Regions from separate parts of the Homo sapiens genome. Here region 1 is linked to region 2. The links are contacts of gene promoters, found by promoter capture Hi-C in human tissues and cell types (Jung and others, 2019). All regions are on one chromosome and are shown on one strand. The core of a region is centred on a gene start or on the middle of the fragment in contact, and the rest is flanking DNA. Distances in the headings are between cores, read along the strand shown.

What was found. The method cuts DNA at HindIII sites, captures the fragments that hold promoters and counts their contacts. A contact is called where the count stands out against the background at its distance.
Region 1: a fragment that was not itself captured here is called in contact with the fragment with the promoter of RORC in region 2 in 1 of the 25 tissues and cell types used here (lymphoblastoid cells).

The regions. Positions count from the first base shown.
Region 1 is chr1:151,318,069-151,323,183 of GRCh38, reverse strand. The region is part of intron 1 of PI4KB (phosphatidylinositol 4-kinase beta); the gene reads left to right. Among named protein-coding and RNA genes, the nearest start is that of PI4KB, 6.8 kb to the left of the region's middle. The HindIII fragment of the contact is 7,586 bases long and covers 1-5,115 here.
Region 2 is chr1:151,829,061-151,833,882 of GRCh38, reverse strand. It overlaps RORC (RAR related orphan receptor C), which reads left to right and starts at 2,081. Exons shown (of 11, transcript NM_005060.4): 1 at 2,081-2,158; 2 at 4,425-4,454. The coding sequence starts at 2,119. RefSeq lists enhancers at 2,773-3,460, 4,147-4,822. The HindIII fragment of the contact is 16,173 bases long and covers 1-4,822 here.

The DNA.
Region 1 (5,115 bases), core at 1,653-4,152, 510 kb after region 2:
GATTTAGCTTTAGAGGATATACCTCTCATTTATATAATTATGTCATTTTTATTTCTTCTACTGGACACCTGTATAACTTTAAATAATATTTAATATATTTGAACCTTTCTTTCTTTTCCATTAACTTTTGACAGTCTCTCTTAATTCACCTTGTAGAATGAACGTCAGATATTGGTTTCCTTACCCGTTTTTCCATCTCTTGTGGATCCATCTCAAAGGACTGTGAGATGTATAAAAAAAGGATAGAGGAGACTAGTTGTGGTGGCTCATGCTTTGTAATCTCAGCACTTTGGGAGGCCTAGGCGGGAGGGTAGCTTGAGGCCAGGAAGAAGCTTTCCTCCTTGGAAGCATCCCCAACCAGAAATCGTATAGTGAGCCATGATTCCACCACTGCACTCCAACCTGGGCAACAGAGTAAGAGCCTGTCTCTTAAGAAAGAAAAAGGAAAAAAATAAAAAGGCAAGGGGTGGGGAAATAAAGGATCCTTTAAAAGGAGGAAAATTGAGCCAGCCTGCCTGCTTGGAAGCAGGGCACTAGATCAGATGATCTCTTAAAGCCATTCTATGAAAATATAAGAACATAAAAATATCAGAATTGGTGCAAACCAATCCATATTTATCTAGTCCATGGAAAAAATTTTGAAAAAGAGAATGGTGATTAACTGGGTGAGGGGATTGATTTGGGGCTCTTTACCATTCTGTCCTAGCAGAGACTGATCCAATAAGTCCTTTAATGGAGGCCAGTAGAAAGTTGTTTGCCTGGAATCTTTTGAGGTGATAAGAAATGGGGAGCTAGGTTAAGCGATAGCATCTCCTCCCCAGAGAGTCCTCTGCAGACATGTATTTTAACTGCTCAGTCACACAGAACATATGTGTATATCTTCTGTGTCTTCTCCAGCTGCTGCTCTGTGTGACCTGTAACAATTCCTTGTCACTCAGACCAGAATTCCCTACTTTGCCCAGTTGGGAGCTGTGGAACTCAGTCAGTTGTCAACTTTTCCTAGGGGCCAGCTGTTAGGCTGTGGAACAGGGGAGGCCTCTTCCATTTCCCTTCCAGTCTGACTGGAAGGAGAATTTAGGTTCCCAGTGTGAAGTGTAGAGCCTCAGTTGTCTGAACCCCCTTGAAGGCCATAGGAGTCATTTAATATTAAAAATTTAGATTGTCTTCCGTCACTTTTTTCTTATTCCTCTGACTTAGAAGGGGAAGGCTGTTGAATACAGGACTTTTTCCTTCACCTTTTCTTTTGCTTTCCAGTCCTTTCATTTTCTTTAGAACAGTTACCCTCAAAGGCTTTTTTTTTTTTTTTTTTTTAAGACAGAGTCTCACTCTGTCGCCCAGGCTGGAGTGCAGTGGTGTGATCTCGGCTCACTGCAAGCTCCGCCTCCTGGGTTCATGCTATTCTCCTGCCTCAGCCTCCCAAGTGGCTGGGACTACAGGTGCCCACCACCATGCCCGGCTAATTTTTTGTATTTTTAGTAGAGACGGGGTTTCACTGTGTTAGCCAGGATGGTCTCCATCTCCTGACCTCGTGATCTGCCCTCCTCAGCCTCCCAAAGTGCTGGGATTACAGGCGTGAGCCACCATGCCCTGCCCACAAAGGCATATTTTCTTGGCATTCAAAACTAAATGAAGCAAGCTGGGCATGGTGGCGGGTGTCTGTAATCCCAGCTACTTGGGAGGCTGAGGCAGGAGAATCGCTTGAACCTGGGAGGCGGAGGTTGCGGTGAGCCAACATTGCGCCACTGCACTCCACTCCAGCCAGGGCAACAGAGCAAGACTCTGTCTCAAAAAAATAAATAAAATAAAAATAATAGTAATAATAAATAGCTAAAGCAATTTAACCCTATTCCCTACAACACCTTCTTCTCCATATGACTTGCTTCAGATGCAGGCAGTGCCTGGGTTCCTGAGAGGCCAGGGAAGAGACCCAGCTCCAGTTTGGTGGTTTCTAGTGGTAGAGCTGCTTATATAGGAGAGGAGTCTGTTTTTTCCTGCACCTCTCAACACTGTCTAGCTCCCTGAGGAGTAAAAGCTGCCGGGAGGGAGAGTCTGTTCAGTAGCAAAATCCTCTGAATACTGTGATGTGATTCTTAGCTGAGCCCTGGGAGTTTTTCTTTTGTCTGTGAGATAAAAGAGGTGATAGTATCCTTATTTGCCTTCCTGGTGCCAGTAATAATCCCAATCGTAGTTAATTGGGGCAGGCATCTGCTAAATTTTCTAGTGAGGTCTGAGACACTATTATGTGGGAGAATGTCTGAACTGTATTTCCCTTGAAAGTTTTGAAAAGTGTACTTCTAGGAGCTTTCAGTGACTTAAAAGTCTGTGGACTAGAGGGAGAGGAAAGGATGTACCAAACATAGAGACTGAGAAAAAGAAGTTGATTGTTTAAGATGATTGAGGCTATCACATGAGTTTCTAAGCAGACCTAAAAGGTAGTGGTCCCCGTTGAATCGGTGACCCTCTGATGAGAGTGCCCTACGAAGGTGTGGCAGGGAATGATTAAAGCTTCCTTCTTATTATTCCTGTGCAACTCACAGTTGCGAGTAGGGACAGATCCACATAGGCAGCCATGCTGGTTCTACTGCTCAGAGGGCACTACCTAATTTTGGGAGAGAGCATAGTGAAAGAGTTGCCACCTTCTTACCAATACCAAGCTCAATCTGCATCAGGGATATTAAATTCAGGAATGAACTTGCTTGGCAGAGTTGGCAGAAAGAAACAGAAATAGCCTTTTTTGGTGATCTCTGAGAACAGAAGAGTTCCCCATCCGTCTTTCTGCAAAACTTTAGTGGTGACTGCTGGGAGGCAGGGAGCTGGACTATATGATATTGGGCAGTTAAAAGTAACCTGGGGCCGGGCGCGGCAGCTCACACCTGTAATCCCAGCACTTTGGGAGGCCGAGGTGGGCAGATCACGAGGTCAGGAAATCGAGACCATCCTGGCTAACATGGTGAAACCCTGCCTCTACTAAAAATACAAAAAATTAGCCGGGCGTGGTGGCGGGCATCTGTAGTCCCAACTACTTGTGAGCCTGAGGCAGGAGAATGGCATGAACCCGGGAAGCGGAGCTTGCAGTGAGCCAAGATTGCACCACTGCACTCCAGCCTGGGCGACAGAGCGAGACTCCGTCTCAAAAAGAAAAAAAAAGTAACCTTAACATTTCAGACGTACAAGAACAGACACTGGAAGGGTGGTGGTGGAAAACAGCCTCCCAGAGGGACTAAAGAATCTCTAGGCCTCCTTATTCCACCTACCCAAAGTATATGCATCCAGGGTCACCGGGGTTGAAGGTGATGTCACTAATATTTTGAAATTACCTGTATTCCAACTCTACAAAATCTTTCCTCTTGCTCATGCTCTTGAGTGTGTCTTAGACTCACTCTATTAGCATTTTTGTGAAGAGGCCTCTGAGTCTGAGTCCTTTGTTAGCTATAGTCAGATTCTGGAGCCAGGTTGATCTGATGAAATTTCCCCAGTTCTGCACTGATTCCAGATTTGGTGAGGCTCTGAAGGATTGTTCTTGGAGAGCAGTGGCTTTGGTCAGCAGTGTTCTTTCATTGAACTTCCTTCCAACAGTCCCTCCAGAGGAGGTGTTCTTTGTTTTGTGACTCCTGTTCCTCCCTGTTCTTTGGAAGGCCTAGATCTATGAGTCCTAGTCTGATTTCTTTTTGCCTTTTCAATTGTCCCTCCAGTTGTTAGAATGTGTGTATGACAGTGGGGGGAGTGGTATTGGGGCAGAAAAGGCTGTCATAAGTATTTCTGGAAGATTCTCAAACAATTGGAACTCTTTGCTTCCCTTATAAAATAATATAAGTTTTATGTTACACACACACTGGTTAGTAACCTTTTAGGTGATGAGGATTCAACTAGCATTTCTTTTTTTTTTTTTTGAGACAGAGTCTCGCTGGTCTTGAACTGCTGACCTCAAAGTGATCCACCTGCCTCAGCCACCCAGTGCACTGGGATTACAGGCATGAGTCACTGTGCCCGGCCTCAACTAGCATATATTGAGTACTACTATGTATCAAAGACTGTGCTAGATTCTTTCATACACGTGATGGTATTTGTTCCACATAGCAACAATGAGAAGGAAGTGTTTTTTCCCAATTTGCAGTTGAGGATAAATGGCTTGCATAAGTTGCACATTTCTGAAAGGCTGAATGAGGATTTTCAACCCCAGCCTATTTGCCTTCAAGTCCAGAGCTCTTTCCATTATATGTTAGCAGCCACGGCACTGGAGAAAGAGGGTGTGATGTCATGATGTCAGACAACCAGAGAAACGGCACAGCTTCAGCAGGGTTGATGATGGTTGTTTTAGAGCTGCCTTCTTCTAAGTGAAGCCTGGCATGGTATTTACTGGCCTTTATTTTCTGGGAACTTCGAGTTTAAAAGGGAAGGTAAAAAAATACCTGTAACCAGAAAAATATATCAAGACTTTAATTTTATTTATTTATTTATTTATTTATTTATTTGAGACAGAGTTTCGCTCTGTTGCCCAGGCTGGAGTGCAGCGGTGCGATCTCGGCTCACCACAACCTCTGCCTCCCGGGTTCAAGCGATTCTCCTGCCTCAGCCTCCCAAGTAGCTGGGATTACAGGCATGCGCCACCACGCCCAGCTAATTTTGTATTTTTAGTAGAGACGAGGTTTCTCCATGTTGGTCAGGCTGGTCTCGAACTCCTGACCTCAGGTAATCCGCCTGCCTCAGCCTCCCAAAGTGCTGGGATTACAGGCGTGAGCCACCGCGCCCGGCCTTTTTTTTTTTTTTTGAGACAGAGTCTCACTCTGTCTCCAGGCTGGAGTGCAATGGCGTAATCTCGGCTCACTGCAACCTCCACCTCCCAGGTTCAAGCAATTCTCCGGCCTCAGCCTCCTGAGTAGCTGGGATTACAGGCGCCTGCCACCACGCCTGGCTAATTTTTGTATTTTTAGTAGAGACGGGGTTTCACCATGTTGGCCAGGATGGTCTCGATCTCTTGACCTCGTGATCTGCCCACCTCGGCCTCCCAAAGTGCTGGGATTACAGGCGTGAGCCACTGCGCCTAGCCAAGACTTTAATATTAAATAAAGATGGCTGGGCAAGGTGGTTCACACCTGTAATCCTAGTGCTTTGGGA
Region 2 (4,822 bases), core at 832-3,331:
GATTGCAGCAAGAGGGAGAAAGTTTAGACAAGAGGGGGAACTTCCCATAAGGATAACCAAGGGATCTTCTTGCCCTGGGGAGAAAAAAAACTCAAACTATCCATGCTTAGGGCAGGGGAGAGGTAGAGAATGCCTAGGAAGCATGTGACACTCCTAGGCCTAGAGGTCAGGATACTGTCTTCTAAATCTCCAGTCACTTCCTCCCCACCCTACATAGTAGCACAAAGTGGCACAACTGGGGAGTCAGCTGTGCCTGCAGTGTCTGGGGATGCTCTGTGTCCATCCGCAAGCATTCTACGTGACCTCCACTCTGTGCCTGCAATTGGTGGGTTGTAGAAGAGGTAGTCACGAAGGGCCCCTGGGAGACCCAGAGTCAAGAGGAAGAGAGGCCTAAAAAGGAGAAAAGATAGAGAGGGGACAGCTGGAGAAGAGCCACAGACAGGCAGGAGCCAGCAAAGAGAGACAGAGAGATGGGGGATAACTGAGGAGTTCTGGGGAGGAGGGGAGCAGAACGGCATCTCCCCTGCACTCCCACGCCCGGCATGTTGCTGGCTCCTCCTGTCAGCTGGAGGGTGCTGGGGGGGCGGGGGGGAAGGGAGCTGCAAAGCACTTTACCTCTCACTCCAAACCTGCCCAAGGTGCAGAGCCCCCAAACAGACCAACATCCTGTTCTGTGCAGAGATGCATACATGGATGCGTGGGCCCACATTTACCAAAAGAACACGGGGGATAATCAGAGCCTCAGAGGCATAGGCACATACCCTTAGACTCAGTGCAGAAGGTCCCCAAAACTTCCCCTCCTCTTTCTCACTACTCATCCACTGTCAATGACCCTAGGAGTTGAAAAGTCCTTCTCCACTTCTACCTTTATCTCTCAATCTGCAGCCATGGGGAGACTCTGGGAGCTACCTAAGAACAGAGGTGCTGATGGTAGCAGAGTGTGAAGCTCCAGGGTTGGGCAGGAGTGGAGGATGGCGAGACGAGACGGCAGAAGAGGGAAGGGACAGCTGCTTGCCCTCTCCATGCCAGGTGCCACGTGCACCAGGTGGGGGGGAGTGGGCGAGTCACGAGGCTGTGGCATGGCTGACTCCTGCTCTGCTGTTTACCAGCTGGGAACGAGAGCAGGAGGAGGTGCCAGGGAGCCTCTTGCTGCAGCCTGGCCCCTGGCCAGTTGCTTGTTGGGTAACCAGGAGAGTCAGGCCCAGCTAATCAAACTCTGGGCCCAGGCCATGCAGGAGAAAAGCAGCACCAGGATCCCCAGAAGCCTCGTCCTCTTGGCCCCCTTCAGAGCCTTCACTGCAGGCCTCAGTGTGGGCCACTAGGTCTGGGAGCCTCTCCTTCTCCCAATGAGTCCAGTGCAGCATCTCTCCTCTCCTCTTCCCCACCATGGCTTCTCTGCCTCCAGGCACTCCTCCAGGCCTGCCCCTTGCCCCAACAGATGAGGAGCACGTAGAAGCATCAGGGGGTCAGGGAGTCCTGGCAAGAGCAGCAAGGGTTAGGGGCAGGGGCCGAGCAGGCAGAGGCCTCAGGGAACTGAACAGTCACTGGGAGGAGTCTGACTGCATCCTAGAGAAGAGACACAGTCCCCCAAACCTGCCCTCTCCATCTCCCCTATGCCTGTCACCTGTCTTAGGTAGAAATCACAGGATTCTAAAGTCACAAAGACTTGGGTCCAAATCATAGCTCACCCATTTATTGTTCTTGTGTGAGTCCTTGGGCAAAATCATTAATATCTCTGAGAATCCCTCCACTCACTGATCAATCTGGAATAATAATGTTTCCCTGTGGTGGGTGCTGTGAATATTTACACAAAGTAAAAGCATGGATTTACATAAAGTGTCCTGCAAAGGGCCCAGCACACAGTAAGTGATTAATAAATGCTAGTTCCCTTCCTTTCTCCTGTCCTGTTTCTCCTCAAGGCTCCATGCACTGGTCCACTGGTCTCTCCTCATGTCCCCTCCTGGTGCCAGGACACTCTGCCAGCCACTCCTTTTCCCTGCCTGCTGGAGGGCCAGGTGCTCCCGCCTTCCACCCTCCGCCCTCCTCCCTCCCCTGGGCCCTGCTCCCTGCCCTCCTGGGCAGCCAGGGCAGCCAGGACGGCACCAAGGGAGCTGCCCCATGGACAGGGCCCCACAGAGACAGCACCGAGCCTCACGGGGTAAGAGGCCCATGGCCCTGCCTGCAGGTGGAAGAGACTGCTGGAGGTTCAGAGGAGGGCAGAAATGGCAAGAGACTGGGCAAGAAGTGAGGAGGGGAGGGAGGGACAAGAGTGCAGAGGAGAAAGCCCTGGGTTGGCAGGGAGTGAAACTGGAGGAGAAACAGGAGGAGGGGCTGGGGAGATGACAGAGGAGAAGAAATCGCAAAAGGAGAGAAACAGGAAAGAAAGGGAGAAGCGGGAGAAGGAAGAAACAGGTTGGAGGGTAGATGGGGAGGGAAGAGCCAAGTCAGGGGAGCCAGATCTAGACCCAGCGAGGGGTCAGAATGTGGACAGGCCCTCCCAGGTGTGGGCTTACCCCCCAGGAGGCACAGGGACACTGCTTCCTTGATCTGGCCAGGACCCCAGACAGCAGTGGCCGGGAGGCTGGCTGCTCCACCTTCTGTTCATTCACCAGTGGAGAAACCTGTCCTTTAAGGAGTGACAGACTTGGGGAGTGTGGCAGGGGGAACCACACCCTGTCAGCTGCCCATGACCACGTAGCCTGGTCCTTTCCTCGCCACTCACCCAGGGATGTGGGATTTCATCTCTGCAGAGAATGTGGGGCACTGGGCCATCAGCAGGGAAGGACAGAATGTCAGGCCGTCCTTGGCCCCACCCATGGTCCAAGTCAGGAACCCCCTCAGAGCAGGATCGCAGGGCCACAGGCTTGGTCAGCTGTGAGCATGGAGGAGGAAAGTTTGAGGGCCAGAGCCACCAAGCTCCAGGGCCACCTGGTGGAGGAAGAACTGGCTGCCTGGGTGAGCAAGGGGAGCACCCCCACCACAGGACTGCTCTGAGGTGCAAGGCTAGAGGCCAGGAGCCGGTGCCACGTCAGGGAGGAAGCTGGGTGGGGCCAGGCAGGAGCAAGGGGAGGTGGGCGGGGCTGGGTGGGGCCTTGCCACCTCGGGGCAGTCTTTTCTCCTCCCTCACCCCAGCAGAGCCCAGGCCATCAGGCCACTCGCCTCCACACAGCCTAGTGACCACGGCCTGCCAGTGGGGAGCATCTCCCGGGCAGAAGGGCACTGTGTGTGTGTGTGTGTGTGTGTGTGTGTGTGTGTGTGTGTATGTCAGGTGTCAAGACTGAACAGCAGAAGGAAAAAAATAACAGAATAGAGTCAGAGGTTAGGGAAGCTATAGGGGGTATAGGGCATGGTTGAAGGGCTTTCTGAGACAAAAGACTGGCCATGTGTTCTGTGATGAGCTGCTATGTGGATGTAGGAAATGGGCCAAGGTCTGGCAGGGGAATCCTCTTTCCAGGGGCTCCCTGGCTAGGTGTTTCATAGATGTTAACTGCATGAATGGGTGACACCCCCCCACCCACCAACCATGCTCCAGCTAAGGCCCTCCCCTCAACGGCTGCTCCCCCTGGAGGTCCGAGTATCCATGTGACCCCCATCGACCCACTCATGCTCCCTACTGCCCAATCTCCACCCAGACCCGGCCACGCAGCAGCAGCAGAGAAGGGAGGCCTTCCTCTTCAGGCTGGTAGGCCAGGGAAGCCTGGCCCGTGGAAGCCAGAGAGGGGTCTGTATTTGCAACTCTCCCCTCCTCTTCCTCCAAACATCCTCTCCCCCTACTCCCAACCCCCACATCTCTGAAGCCCTGGTGTTTTCAGGCATAGATAAGCAACCAAGAGATTTCAGTCCCACAGAGATTTAACTCTGGCTGTAGGATATTTCTTGTGCACCTCCAATGAAATTACAAAGTAAATAAGACCAACACAGTCCCTGCCTTCACAGGGCTTTACAATTTGGCAGGAAAGACCCATTTCATAGACAATGACACAATTACAGCAGTTAGGTGACAGTTGGTGACATGGTGAGTGCCAGGAAATAAAATGCAAGGAGCTAAATGTGTCAGCACAAGGGCAGGGGAAGGGGGTGTGTGTGGCTTCTCCAAGGAAGAAACATAATCAGAGACCTGAGGGAGAAAGAGAAGTTGGCTAGATTAAGGGGTACAGGAGGGACAGGCATTCTAGGCAAAGGAGCAGCTTGGGGGAGTCCCAGAGGCAGTGAGGAGCCTGACACTTCTGGGTACCTGGAAGAGGGCCAGTGTGGCCCAAGGGCAGAGGAGGAGAGAGGGGCACTGCAGGGGGTGGCCTGCCTGCCCTTCAGACGCCAGGCTCTGAGGGAAGGAGTGCGGCAGTGGGATCCTAGGAGTGGGGAAAGTGTCTCAGCCCCTCATGATCTTCAACCTTTGACGTCAACCCCCTCTCTTGTCTTTACAGAGCTGCTGGCTGCAAAGAAGACCCACACCTGTGAGTAGGGGGTCCGGGGCAAGAAAATGGCTGGGGCATAATGAGATGGAGAATAATTCAGCAAGTGATCTGTGGGGGGACTGAGGTTGGACAGAGGTGGAGGAGTCAGGAAGAGATGGCAGGCAACAGGAAAGCAAGGGGAGGTGCGAGGAAACCACAGATCAGGGCAGTGGGAGGAGATGAGGAAGAAGCCTGAAGCATGAAAGGAAACACTGTAAAGAAACCAGGAGAGAACAAAGGAAAAGGGAACCGCCTTGTGAAAAAAGGCGAGGAGAAATGCTGGACAGAGGCAGGGAGATGGGAGGGGGTGGGGCCGACTGCCAGGCCGGGGAAGGAAGGAGATAGAGGTAGGGGGGTGTGCGGAGGCG